Regions from separate parts of the Homo sapiens genome. Here region 2 is linked to region 1. Evidence: promoter capture Hi-C in human tissues and cell types (Jung and others, 2019). All regions are on one chromosome and are shown on one strand. Each heading gives the region's core, a stretch centred on a gene start or on the middle of the fragment in contact. The rest is flanking DNA. Distances are from core to core; before and after follow the strand shown.

What was found. The method cuts DNA at HindIII sites, captures the fragments that hold promoters and counts their contacts. A contact is called where the count stands out against the background at its distance.
Region 2: a contact is called between the fragment with the promoter of FBXW12 here and the fragment with the promoter of CAMP in region 1, in 2 of the 25 tissues and cell types used here (IMR-90 fibroblasts and mesenchymal stem cells).

What each region holds. Positions count from the first base shown.
Region 1 is chr3:48,222,171-48,224,834 of GRCh38, reverse strand. It overlaps CAMP (cathelicidin antimicrobial peptide), which reads right to left and starts at 1,340. Exons shown (of 4, transcript NM_004345.5): 1 at 1,123-1,340; 2 at 374-481; 3 at 161-232. The coding sequence starts at 1,323. RefSeq lists a silencer at 1,362-1,656 and enhancers at 1,666-1,715, 1,726-1,855, 1,876-1,995. The HindIII fragment of the contact is 5,660 bases long and covers 1-2,495 here.
Region 2 is chr3:48,370,805-48,373,468 of GRCh38, reverse strand. It overlaps FBXW12 (F-box and WD repeat domain containing 12), which reads right to left and starts at 1,250. Exons shown (of 11, transcript NM_207102.2): 1 at 1,149-1,250; 2 at 612-785; 3 at 124-161. The coding sequence starts at 701. The HindIII fragment of the contact is 16,322 bases long and covers 1-2,664 here.

The DNA of each region.
Region 1 (2,664 bases), core at 91-2,590:
ATTCCAGAGCCGGCCCTGGAGATGGAACTCAGGTTTGGGGAAGAGCCCTGGGTAGGAGGGGCTTTCTCTGTCCTGGGTTGGGGGAGTAGTTAATTGACCCATTGGATGGTCCACACTCTATGCCCCCATCAGCCCCTGCATCCCAGAACAGCCCACTCACCTTATCACAACTGATGTCAAAGGAGCCCCTGGCCTGGTTGAGGGTCACTGTCCCCATACACCGCTTCACCAGCTGGAAAGGAGAAGCTCAAGGTCAAACTTGAAACCATTTGCCATGACCTCCCAGCCACATCCCAGTGGGAAATATTCCCCAGGTGCCCCCTGTTCAGCTCCTTGGGAGGCACCCACCAACACCCCCAGCCCCCAGCCTCACCCCGTCCTTCTTGAAGTCACAATCCTCTGGTGACTGCTGTGTCGTCCTGGGGCACACTGTCTCCTTCACTGTGAAGCTCACAGGCTTTGGCGTGTCTGGGTCCCCATCCTAGTCAGAGGAGGAAATGGGGAGGCCCATTCTTGTATTTTCTGATTTGTGTCCATGACCTCCCCACCAAGAGGGCAGGCTTTCCACAGTACCTGATGTGCGACGGGCACTGGGTGCTGGGCTTGGCACTGGGGCATTGAGGGGAGGAGGACTGAGCCATTCCTACCCTCCTAGGTGAACAGTGAGTAGGAGCAGACCTCAGATGAGCTCTAACAAGGAGCCCCTCCCACTCTGGGGTGGGGGCAAGGGAAGTCAGGGGGCTTCCTGGGGGACAAGACATGCCCACTGGAACCTAAAGTCTGGATAGAGTTCTTCCCTATGTGGGGTAACGTGGTACAGAAGAGACTTAAAGCAGAGGAGGTCACTGCCCAGAGCCAATGACCCCATTCTAGTGCCTGGAGCTCGCAGAAGTCCCAAAACCTGCGTGGGGTCGGGGTGAGGGTATCTCTGCCACAGCAGGAATTATAAGGCAGGAAGCTCTCGAGCTGGGAGGAGACACGAGCTCTAGAAGGTTCCCTGGAAAACACGGGACCACATTTAAAGGGGGAGATGCCCTCCTGGCAGGCAGTGCAGCAGGAGCAGAAGGAACAACACGTGGCCAAGCCCAGCCAGAGCAGAGCAGAATGTCCCCCAAAGCTCACCATCGTGGGCCTGGGGTCCAGGTCCAGGAGGCGGTAGAGGTTAGCATCCGAGGACCGCTGGTTGATGCCATCTATAGCACGAAGCACAGCTTCCTTGTAGCTGAGGACCTGGGCAATGATGGCCAGAGGCATCACCAGGCCCAGCAGCAGGAGCACCAGTGACCACCGCCCCAGGGAGTGGCCATCCCTTTGGGTCTTCATGGTCCCCATGTCTGCCTCCCTCTAGCCCACAGGAGCCTCCTTTATGCCCAGCCTGAGCCTGATGCAAAAGCCCAACCAGGAGCCTTCCTGATCCACCCATCCCTGGCTGCCTGCCAGGGTGTGGGCTGGGGTTTGCTTTAGCCCCTGGCTATTGCTTCACAGGACTTGCTGGGCAGTGAGTGAGGCCTTCCTTGTGTGCAAGATGAGGAAGTGGTTTCTTCATCTCTGACAACCTCCCAGACCTGACCGGAGATTGTCATAGCCAGGGGTGCTCAAGAGCGTTAAATCCCTCCAGAGAGGAAGAGAGCCAGGTGCCTATTCTACATCCTTCTACTCCTCAGGAGTCAGTATGATGGACTGCTAAATCTCCAGCTCTAGGCATTGCCTGGCACCCTGTAGGCATCGATTAAGAATTGATGAATGAGGCAGGGCACGGTGGCTCACGCCTATAATCCCAGCACTTTGGGAGGCCAAGGTGGGCGGATCACCTGAGATAAGGAGTTCGAGACAAGCTTGGCCAACATGGTGAAACCCCATCTCTACTAAAAATATGAAAATTAGCCACGCATGATGGCTCACACCTGTAGTCCCAGCTACAAGCTGAGGCATGAGAATCACTTGAACCCATTGAACCCGGGAAGCAGAAGTTGCAGTTAGCTGAGATCATGCCACTGCACTCCAGCCTGGGTAACAGAGTGAGACTCAGTATGAAAAAAAAAAAAAAGAACTGGTAAATGAAGACAGTAGCCACCCCCAACCTAGAGACTCACTCTTGCAAGGGACAAGTTGCCCTTTCAGTTCAAGGCCATACCACATGCTCTCTGGACCCAGCCGTCAGCCAGACGAAGGCTCTGCTCCATCTATCCCCTTCTGCATCCTTCTTCACTGTTTTTTTCAGTCTCAAAATGTTCCCAAGCCCCTCCAGACATGGCCTTTCACCATGGCTTCTCCCAAGCCAAGTCTTAGGAAAGGTTGTCTACGCTTCTTGACCCCATCTTTTCACTCTTCTTCATGCTGAAGGCCACTGAAGGCTGGCCAACCCACCCTTGGTCCATGGCCACCCTCAAGCCTGGTCTTTGTCTGCACAGGCACTGGTGAGCCTTCCTTCTTGCTGCCCCGGTCTCCCCTGATGCCACTCTCCTGCTGTCCCTCCTGCCTCCCTGGTGGCTCCTTCTTGGTCTCCCCTAAGGGCTGTCTTCTTAATATTGAGAGCGTGTGGGGTCACCTCCTGGGCTGCTTCTCTTCCCTGGCCTCGGGTTTCCCTGGGGACGCCCTCTCCCAGGACACCAGTTATAATAGGCAGACACCACCCAGTCTGTATCTCTGAGTTCGAGACTCCCA
Region 2 (2,664 bases), core at 1-2,500, 150 kb before region 1:
TACTCACACTAACTTTCCTGTGTATATCTCACAACACAGCCACACAGGCCTTGGGACACAGCATGGGTGCGCAGTCAGATGATCTCCTCTCCCCTTCCCTCCTTGCCCTTTCCCTTCCCTTACCTCCACAGGTAATCACTGTCTGCAATCCTATTCCAATGCTATGGGAGAGAAAGGAAGAGACAAGCAGGCAATCAGTTACATCAGAGAGCAAGGGTAATCCTCTGCTATTATTTGTTCTGGGAGCTGGGCCCGCACAGGTTAATCAGATGGGATTCCAGCTCTCAAAGCACTCTCAGTGTGGGGAGATAAGGAAATGGTAACAACAGAGACCTATCACTGCTAATACAGGCACTGGGTATTCCCATGAATTCACAGGAAGAAGTGTTGATTTCCTAGGGCTTGAAATGGGAGCCTCAAGGACTGTTTAGTCAGCACAACTCCTGGATATCAGCTTGTCCTTTTCGTTTAACAGAATATGAGGCCCTCAGTATGAAGAATGCTAACCCCCAAAGCCTCAGTGTAACCCTCTGCTATTCTGCAAAGTGGTGCTCAAACTGGTCGAGAGAAGCAGCGGGCTTGGGGGGCAGTGGGAGGTGGAAGGCCTTTACCTTGTTCACCTGGGAAACCTGCAGCAAGCCGAACAGGTCCAGGAAAGAGAAGATTCGCTTCAAAGCTAAGTCAGGCAATCGGATCTCCATTTCATGCGGCCTGAACCCACATCCACTTTCCTTTCTCCTCTCCGGGCTGCTCTGAATTTATAGGCTTTGCCAAAGTCTGCAGCACTTGTAAAGATTTTCACCCATGCCCATCTGTGTGCGGTAGAAACAAGCTGCAGGTGTGCAGACTCCCGGGCTGACCTCCACCCCGGCCTCTCCCCTGGGGCCTGATCCACACAGCTGGCAGGCATCCCTACCTAAACCCACTTGTTAGTGCTGTTCATTGTTTAGAGGAGCTCAGCAACACCTGTGCGCTGTGAGCTGGAGGTGCAGAACCTGGGGCAGCCCCAGTTGCAGATGAAGTTGTCAGAACCCTTTAGGAAATGTCACCGAGTGCACTCACTTTGATCAGATCTGAGTGTCTCTATGACTCTATTTAAGTTCCAAACTCCTGGAATTGGAGTCTGCTTGCCCTGTGTCTGTGCCTACCTTGGGATCTTGAATCTGGTGAGTGGGGCTCATCTCTCAGCGCCAGCATGGCCTCTGGGTTTCTACCTTCTCGCATTTAACTTTGCAGTGGAGGAGAAAGAACGTGCCAAGCTGGCTTCTCCACAGAGGTCCGCCCAAAGGGAGCAGGCCTTGTCTGGGATGGCTCTCCCAGCTGGTGGCTTTCCCTGGGATGTGACGCTTTCCCACAGTTACAGATCTCCCAAGAACCTGACAACTCATTCTGGGATTTTCTAAAGACCGTGTCATAGCCTGGGTGTTTGTGTCCTCTCAAAATTCCTACGTTGAAATTCTAACCCTTGGTGTGATTGGAGGTGGGGGGCCTTTGGGAGGTAAGTGGGTCACAGGCAGAGTCCTTATGATGGGACCAGTGACCTTATAAAAGAGACCCCAGAACGCTCTCTAGCCCTGTTCATATCATGCGAGGACATGAGAAGGTGTCAGCTGCAACCTGGAAGAAGGCCCACACCAGAACCTGACCGTGCTGACAGGTGACTCTTGGACTTCTCTCCTCCAAAATTGTGAGAAATAAATTTGTTTGTAAGCCACCCAGTCTATGGTACTTTGCTGCAGCATAAGACAGGGGTCCCTCTGTGAGGCTCAGTGGCCAACCCTTCTTAAAACTGCTGCCTCCAGGCAGACACACGGGAGTGGTTGTCGGGAGTCCCATTTATGATACAGTAGTAAGAGAGAGGAAAAATACAAATTGACATGGTGAGGAAATAAAAAGGAAAAGCAAAGACCAAGAAGCACCTAGAGGGGCGTGGGGAAAGGCGAGTCAAGGGGTGTGTGGAGAGGAGTGAGAAAAATACAAGGGTAAAAGATTTGTATTCCATAAATAGGAAATAATGCAGAGAGAGCCAGAGCCGTGGAAGGACACAGGAAGACAGAAAGCTTGGAACGGACTCTATTGTAGAGGAACAGAATTAATGCAAAGATATAGAAGGCTGAGAAATAAAACACTTTAAAATATGACAAGGGAAGAGAAGAAACAGTAAAATAAAGGATATTTTAAAAGTATTAAAGCACAAATATTATAAAATACACAGATAGGAAATATAACTGTAAGTGGACTGAGACAGAGTAGGAATAAAATGGAAAAGAGGACAGATGAGAAAGAGGCAAACATAAGGAAACTGAAGCAAATTGCCGAATGAGTGAATGAATGAATTTGAAATAGAGGAACAGAGGCCAGGCACAGTGGCTCATGCCCGTAATCCCAGCACTTGGGGAGGCCGAGGCGGGTGGATCACCAGGTCAGGAGTTTGAGACCAGCTTGGCCAACATAGTGAAACCCTGTCTCTACTAAAAATACAACAAATTAGCTGGGCGTGGTGGCGGGTGCCTGTAATCCCAGCTACTTGGGAGGCTGAGGCAGGAGAATTGCTTGAAGCTGGGAGGTGGAGGTTGCAGTGAGCTGAGATTGCGCTACTGCACTCCAGCCTGGGCGACAGTGCGAGACTCCATCTCAACAACAACAACAAAAAAAATAGAGGAA